2 separate regions of the Homo sapiens genome follow, and region 1 is linked to region 2. Evidence: promoter capture Hi-C in 16 types of primary human blood cells and fetal thymus (Javierre and others, 2016). All regions are on one chromosome and are shown on one strand. Each heading gives the region's core, a stretch centred on a gene start or on the middle of the fragment in contact. The rest is flanking DNA. Distances are from core to core; before and after follow the strand shown.

What was found. The method cuts DNA at HindIII sites, captures the fragments that hold promoters and counts their contacts. A CHiCAGO score of 5 or more calls a contact.
Region 1: a fragment that was not itself captured here is called in contact with the fragment with the promoter of HABP4 in region 2 in 1 of 17 cell types (megakaryocytes); the score reaches 5.8 in megakaryocytes.

The regions. Positions count from the first base shown.
Region 1 is chr9:96,598,409-96,602,569 of GRCh38, reverse strand. All of the region lies in intron 1 of CDC14B (cell division cycle 14B), which reads left to right. LOC105376163 (a long non-coding RNA gene) reads right to left here and starts at 2,953. Exons shown (of 4, transcript XR_001746853.2): 1 at 2,866-2,953. The HindIII fragment of the contact is 4,276 bases long and covers 1-3,872 here.
Region 2 is chr9:96,448,582-96,452,899 of GRCh38, reverse strand. HABP4 (hyaluronan binding protein 4) reads right to left here and starts at 2,731. Exons shown (of 8, transcript NM_014282.4): 1 at 2,272-2,731. The coding sequence starts at 2,620. RefSeq lists silencers at 2,214-2,263, 2,344-2,403, 2,414-2,953 and an enhancer at 3,234-3,313. The HindIII fragment of the contact is 2,057 bases long and covers 992-3,048 here.

The DNA of each region.
Region 1 (4,161 bases), core at 485-2,984, 150 kb before region 2:
TTTCCCTGCACAAGTTCTCTTCTCTTGTCTGCTGCTGTGTGAGATGTTCTGCCATGATCATGAGGCCTTCCCAGCCACGTGGAACTCTGAGTCTGTTAAACCTCTTTTGTAAATTGCCCAGTTTCGGGGATGTCCTTATCAGCAGCGTGAAAACGGACTAACATATGTGGTAATAAAAAATAAGACCCCCAAATCTCAGCAGCTGAAAATACAGACGTAATTCTTTTTTGCAGAGGTGCTGTGCTTCAGCAGGGAACTGTGCTTGTTGTGACTGCTTGGGGACATGGGCTGATGAGCAGCATCTTCTCAGTATTGCTGGTCCCTGTGCAGAGGGAAAAGAGCTGTGGAAGGTCTGGAATTAACATTTAGATGCCTTTTTCCACTCATAGCTCACAGGCCAGAAGTAATCAAATGGTTCCATCCAACAGGCCAGAAATATTTGGTGAACAGCACTAATGACTACCACAGTTAGTTTTTGTTTTGTTTTGTTTTTGTTTTTGTTTTTGTTTTTGAGACTGAGTCTCGCTCTGTCGTCCAGGCTGGAGTGCAGTGGCGCGATCCTGGCTCACTGAAAGCTCCGCCTCCTGGGTTCACGCCATTCTCCTGCCTCAGCCTCCTGAGTAGCTGGGGTTACAGGCACCCACCACCATGCCCAGCTAATTTTTTGTATTTTTAGTGGAGATGGGATTTCACTGTGTTAGCCAGGATGGTCTCGATCTCCTGACCTTGTGATCAGCCCACCTCGGCCTCCCAATTTTTTTTTTTTTTTTTTTTTCGAGACAGCGTCTTGCTCTGTCGCCCAGGCTGGAGTGCAGTGGTGCGCCCTCAGCTCACTGCAAACCCCCACCTCCTGGGTTCAAGTGATTCTCCTGCCTCAGCTTCCCGAGTAGCTGGGACTGCAGGCGCCTGCCACCACACCCGGCTAATTTTTGTAGTTTTAGTAGATGGGGTTTCACCATGTTGCCCAGGCTGGTCTCAAACTCCTGACCTCAAGTGATCTGCCGCCTCGGCCTCCCAAAGTGCTGGGTTTACTACAGGTGTGCCACGCCCGGCCCTTTTGTAAGTTTTTTTTTTGAGATGGAGTCTCTTTCTGTCACCAGGCTGGAGTGCAGTGGTGCAATCTTGGCTCACTGCAACCTCTGCCTCCCGGGTTCAAGCAATTCTCCTGCCTCAGCCTCCCAAGTAGCTGGGACTACAGGCGCACACCACCATGCCCAACTAATTTTTCTATTTTTAGTAGAGACGGAGTTTCACCATGTTGGCCAGGATGGTCTCAATCTCTTGACCTCATGATCCGCCTGCCTTGGCCTCACAAAGTGCTGGGATTACAGGTGTGAGCCACCACACCTGGCCCCACAGTTAGGTTTTTAGATTGTTCAGAGCATGTTTAGATACACAGATATGTCTATAGAGAAATACACTTTTTTTTTTGAGAGGGAGTCTTGCTATGTCGCATATACTTTCACATCAACAAGATAAATATTCCAAGTACTATCATATCATTAGTTTCTTCCTATTTCATATAATGTAGTGGAATATTTTATTGTCATAAACACTTCTAAACATGGATATCTTTTTTTAGTGGATGCATACTGTTCCATTATATGGTTGCATAATAATCTGTTTCCTTATGTATCCTCTACTGAGAAAAATGTACATAAATTCATTTGCATAACATTGGGTAGAGAATTTTAGGAGTTGTGGACACCATCCCTAGCCAAGCCATGGATTGCTGTTATAGTTTATAGGTTATAAACACAAACGCTAGGCCGGGTGCGGTGGCTCACACCTGTAATCCCAGCACTTTGGGAAGCTGAGGCAGGTGGATCACTTGAGGTCAGGAGTTTGAGACCAGCCTGGCCAATATGGTAAAACTCTGTCTCTACTAAAAATACAAAAATTAGCCGGGCTTGGTGGCGCACACCTGTTATCCCAGCTGCTCAGGAGGCTGAGGCCGGAGAATCGCTCGAACTCAGGAGGTGGAGGTTGCAGTGAGCCAAGATCGCACCATTGCACTCCAGCCTGGGCAACAGAGTTAGACCCCATCTCAAAAAAAAAAACCACAAGCTCTATTTAGAATACTCTCTCCTTATCCCATTAATCTCCCTCACAAAAGTGTAATAACTTTTTACACTTGATATTTTGGTAGGTAAATAAATTCACATGGTTCTGAGAATAAGTATAAAGTGAAGAGCCTCTCATCAGCCCCTCCTTGCCCTCATCTGTCCAGTTCTTCTTACCCCTGCTATCCCTCACAGATTTTAATTTCTCATTTCCCTCCAGAATTTTTTTAAAAAATGTATTTGCATAAAATATATATATATATATAATTTTTTTGGTAGAGATGGGCTCTTGTTATGTTGTGCAGGCTGGTCTCAAACTTCTGGCCTCAAGTGATTCTCCCACCTCGGCCTACCAAAGTGCTGGGATTACAGGCGAGAGCCATCATGCTCAGCCAAGATTCTTTAAAAAGTTATTATTTTACCCTTTTTATTTTGGAATAAAATTGGATTTATAGAAAAGTTACATTTAGAAATAACGGCCAGGTATGGTGGCTCATGCCTGTAATCCCAGCACTTTGGGATGCCAAGGTGGATGGATCACGAGGTCAAGAGATTGAGAGCATCCTGGCCAACGTGGTGAAACCCCGTTTCTACTGAAAATACAAAAATTAGTTGGGTGTGGTGGCATGCGCCTGTAGTCCCAGCTACTTGGGAGGGTGAGGCAGGAGAATCGCTTGAACCTGGGAGGTGGAAGTTGCAGTGAGCTGCGCCACTGCACTCCAGCCTGGTGACAAAGTGAGAATCCGTCTCAAAAAAAAAAGAAAACAAAAGAAAAGTTACAGAAATAATACAGAGAGCTCACCCGGTTTCCTGAAATGAAAGCATCTTATGTTGCCGTAGCATGTTTATCACCACTAAGAAGCTAACATCATTGTGAATTATTAACTAAACTTCAGATTTTATTTGGATTTCCCCAGGTTTTTCATTAGTATCTTTGTTCTGTTCAGGATACAGTCCAGGACACTACATTGCATTAAACAGATTCTCTTTGAATTGAGAGATAGCATGTGCTCCATGTGGTTCTGCATTTAGTGTTCTCAACTGATGATGTCATAATTCATTGATTTCAAAATCCAATGGAATGTAACTATTATTTTTGAGTACTTCTTCTCCTTTTTTTTTTTTTAAACGGAGTTTCACTCTTGTTGCCCAGGCTGGAGTGCAATGGCGAGATCTCGGCTCACTGCAACCTCCGCCTCCTGGGTTCAAGTGATTCTCCTGCCTCAGCTTCCCGAGTAGCTGGGATTACAGGCACCCATCATGATGCCTGGCTAATTTTTTGTATTTTTAATAGAGATGGGGTTTTGCCATGTTGGCCAAGTTGGTCTTGAACTCCTGACCTCAGGTGATCCGCCCACCTTGGCCTCCCAAAGTGCTGGGATTACAGGTGTGAGCCACCACACCCGGCTCTAAGTACTTCTAAGAAAGGAAAAATGCTGCCAATTATAATTGTAAGTTACTAATTATAAGATACGGCATAATTTCAGAGATGTTCAAATGTGAGAAAAGTACATTTTAGATTTAATGGAATATGATACATCTTGGAAAGATTTCAACTTTATTTCACAGAATTTTCTCATTCTTTTTGTACCTACATAGAATTTCACTTTATAATATACAAAAGATCTTTAAGCAAGCCCTTATTGATACTCATGTGGATTGTTTTCTGTCTTTAGGTATTAAAATGCTGTATTCAATAATTTGGGACATATATGTCATTTCACATATATACAGATGTGTATCAGGGTGACATTCCAAAAGTGCACTGCTGAGTTAGAGGTATATGTATTTGTAATTTTGATGGAAGCTTTACCAATTTACAGTCCCACTAGCAATGTATGAGAATAGTTTTTTTTAATGACTTCACAAATAGGCCGGGCACAGTGGCTCACACCTATAATCCCAGCACTTTGGGAGGCCGAGGCAGGTGGATCACAAGGTCAGGAGTTCAAAACCAGCCTGGCCAAGATGGTGAAACCCTGTCTCTACTGAAAATACAAAAATTAGCTGGGTGTAGTGGCAGGCGCCTGTAATCCCAGCTACTGGGGAGGCTGAGGCAGGCGAATGACATGAACCCAGGAGGTGGAGCTTGCAATGA
Region 2 (4,318 bases), core at 1,482-3,981:
GGAAAAGCTTGTGACTTCCACATTCTTTCAGGATTAACATTTCTATGATATGTCAAACATGTTTTATTTTTGTCTACACTAAGCATTCACTTACAACATTCTAACTAGATAAAAAATTTTGAATGTTAGAAAAGTACAGTGCTTCTTATCAACTAGGGTTACAAAACCTTGAGAGAATAGCTCCTTGACACCCATTATAGATAAATTTAGTACAGTAACTACATAAATGGAAATTAATGAGCTGTTTGCTCCTGAAATAACACATACTTGAAAAAGAACTTGAATGATAAAATTTCCGTTCTAACTACAAAATCAACTAAATACCTTTAGTTGATTTCAAAAGCCAGATCACTTAGACCTAACAACTGACAGAAAAAAAAAGTTACGAGTGTACTACATGACAACATCAAGTGCAGGAAACAGGTTGCAACCCAGTTTATATCATTTAAGTTTAGAAAGAAAAGAAATAGCTCTGTGCATTTATGTATATAAATGCAAAGTGTTAGTAGGAAAAATAAGAGGATTTTCACTTAACCTCATACATTTTGGAATTGCTTAAAATTCTTAACACAAAAATGCATGACAATTTTAAAAAGGCTAAAAATCAATGTATTAACAGCACTAACTCGTCTCACGTTTTTCTGAAGCACAGAATTTTTTTTTTTTTTTTTTTGTGACGGAGTCTCGCTCTTTCTCCCAGACTGGAGTACAGTGGCTCGATCTCGGCTCACTGCAAGCTCCGCCTCCTGGGTTCACGCCATTCTCCTGCCTCAGCCTCCCGAGTAGCTGGACCTACAGGTGCCCGCCACCACGCCCGACTAATTTTTTGTATTTGTAATAGAGACGGGATTTCACCGTGTTAGCCAGGATGGTCTCGATCTCCTAACCTCGTGATCCGCCCGCCTCGGACTCCCAAACTGCTGGGATTACAGGCGTGAGCCACCACACCCGGCATTTTCATTTGTTAAAAAATAAAGGGTGAAGAAAAGCTTAGCCTTCCTCAATTCCTTTATTATATTGATGTAAATAAGTTTAAGAGAAAAAGATAAAAAACAGGATATAAAATGCACAATGTATCTCCAGTCTCACTGTTTAGATAGGCTCAGAAATTTACTGGCCTACCAAAGTGTCGTGAGATAGTAAATAACATTTTTTTAAAAATCATTTTCAACATCTTTATTGTAGTGACTTGATTCTCAAGTGATGACTCTGGATTTAGCTTTTCACAAATAAAGGTAAACATTACCCAGCTGCACATCAAAGCCCTAATACTTAAACCTGAGACGTTTCCTCAGGGCTGCGATGCACAATTTTTATCAAGCAAGGAACAAACCAATAAAGCCAAGTTGAACACACTGGCAAACGTCGGCAGGAATGGTCAACCTACACATCTTAATCCTAACACTCTGCAAACCTTGGGACCGCTGCCTCATTTCAAGAAAACAGGAAACACAGGTGGAGTGTTGCTGGCTCTGCCACTGACGCAGTTCGGTGAGAGAATGAACTCTGAAGCACCCTCCCCGTCCACAGGCAGCAGGACACCACGCTGCGCACCGGTTTTTCTTGCTAAATAGGGAGTGGGGAACTCCGAATATTCTTGCTGGAAAGGTTAAAAACGCTTTTCTTAAAGCAGCCTTGAGCTATTTATAAGTTGCACATCCCATCAACACCACACGAAGTACTGAAATACGATGCCGGCTGCCTCCTGGAAGCTACCGGACGGAGAAGGGGCGAAGGCGCCAGGCCGGACCGCGCCGGGGACCCCCGCCCGGGCCCCGACGTCACAGGCCGCCCCGCGGTCGCCCAGGCCTCCGGCATCACAGAGGCCCCCAGCCCCGGGACCAGGCGCCCTCCTCCTCCCCACCGCGCTCTCGGGTGGCTCCGACCTCAATCTTGCAGAGGCTGGGCTGGAAGATGAAGGTCCCCGCCAGGTCTGGATGTGGGAGCCCCGGGGTAGCGACCTCAGCCGTTCGCCCCCACACGCCACCCAGACAACCTCCCTCAACTTCGTCCAACTTGCCGTAGAGCCTCAGTGCCAGGGTTCGAGGGCCCTATCCCACCCCAAGCCAGCGTTTCCCCCGGAGCCCCGCACGAGGCTGGCGAGAGCTGGAAGGGGTGTGACCCCTGCCCCTCTCCTCCTACCTTCGGCGGCCACCAGGACCCTCAACTCTCCCTACTGTTCCCGGGCCCCTCCTCCTGAAACCGGCCCCCGGGACCCCAGTCTCACAGCGGGCCGAGCCGTGGTCCGCTAACCCCGCTGTCCCCGCGTACCCGGCGCCTGCAGGCCGCCCCCGGGGCTATCGGGCCGCTGAGCGACGGGCGCCGGGAGGCTCTTGCGCTCCTTCTGCGACTCCCTCCGGCCGCCCGCGCCGGCTCTGTGGCCCGAGGCCCCGGCTGGGCTCCTGCCGCCGCGGGGACCGGCCCCGGCCGCCGCCGCCGCCTCGTCGCGCCTCTTGCGCTGCAGCTGCTGCTGGCGCCGGCGCTCGGCCTCGCGCAGGATGTCGAACGGGTCCGACTCGTCGTCCAGCAGCTGATGGAAGCGGTTGGCCACCACGCAGCCGAAACTCTCCTGCATCGCGGCGCCAGCGGCAGCCACGGGACTCCCCAGAGCGCCCTTCATGCCGCCGCGACCACTGCGGGCCCGGGAGGGCAGCCCACGCGAGCGCGTCTCAGCGAAGCCGGCGGCCAGGACCCATGCCGCCCGCTCCGCCGCCACCGCCCTCCGGGCCCTACCCTGTCCGGCCCCTACCGGCGCCCGCCCCCGCGGCGCCGCCGCCGTCCGCCCCGCTGCGCCAGACAGCCAGTCAGCGCGCGCGGGTGCGCCCCCTTTCCGACACGGCGCGCCTGGAGACCCAATCACCGACCGGCTGCTGTCACGTCACGCGACCTCTGGGCCCCGCCCCGTTCGCTCAGCAGGGAGGGGCGGGGCCCAGGGGCGGAGCTACTGGCTGGTCCAGGCGGCGCCGACGAAGCGGTGGGGTCTCGGCTGTGTGTGCTTTCTCCCGGGACTGCGACCGTATTTGCTATGGGCCACTCTGCTTTGAAGCTTATGTATACATTTAGCCGTGCAACAGCTACATATTGCGCACTTACCGTGTGCCAGGCATTATGTTGTAGGAAATACTAGCTCCGTGTTGTCACAGATCTGAGTCTGTAGATGGAGAAAAAGTGCCCTGAAGGACAGGCGCAGAGCTCTCTACGGGCTGCAGCAAAGGGATCTGACCTAATTGGGAAATGACAGTTAAGCCGAGGGAGAGGGGTGACAAGGGGTTGGAGGAGGAACAGCAAGTGCAGCAGTCTTGAGGTGGGATGTGCACAGCCTATTCAAGCTCAAAGTGGTCTCTATTCTAAGAGCAGTGGGAAGCAAGTTTTGAGCATGAGCAGATTTGGGTTTGAAAAGGCCACCCTACCTGCACTGTGAACTAATAGTTTGGAGGGAAATACAAATGGATGCTGGGAAGCCAAACATGATTGTTGCAAAGCTCCAGGGAAGAGTTGATAGTGACTGGGATTAGGATGGTGGCGGTGGAGGCGAAGAGAGTAGATGGATTCAAAGACTTGGTGATGCGCTAGAGGTGGTGATGAGGGAGAAGAAGATACGGTGACTCTTATTTTCCTGGCTCCAGCATCTGAATGATAGTATTAGTTACCACTGGAAGACACTACTTTAACGGGAATCATTAATTCAGTCTGGGACACGTTGAGGTTTGGATATTTGTTTTCTTTTGAGATATTCAGTTGAGGCCTGGAGCTTAGAGAACGCCGGACTGGACTTCCTCCAGGAAATCTTTGCATAGGCAGCGGTGGAGACACGCTTGGCTGCCTATCCTACAGCCGTTCTTTCCCTCTTACATTTTTCCAGAGCCTGTATTTTGTTCAGGCATCATATTCCCCAGGGGAAGAGGGCCCCTTCCAGCCTCAAACTTGATTAATCATACATTATTCATTGCACCTGATTCCAATTCCTTGCCAGTAATTGGCTTAGGAATAGGCTGTGGGGCAAATCGGGCAGAACAGATCTGAGAAGTATTCTGGGAAAGTTTTTCTTGCACCTAACAAGGGATTGAGAAGGGATCTCCCCCCCTTCTGTTCCCTGGTCTTTGTTCCATGAGAAGACATGATGCCTCGGGTGGCTGTTCCTTAGCGTGGCCATGAGGATGGCAGAGCAGGATAGAGAAAGGCTAGATCCTTGATGAGGTTGAGCTGCCGACTGGACCCACTTGGGAACCTCCCTACTTGAGGCTTATGATGTAAGGTGACAGATGTGATTGCGCTTAGTTGTGTTTGCTTGTTTCATCCGAAAGCATCCAGTTAGAGC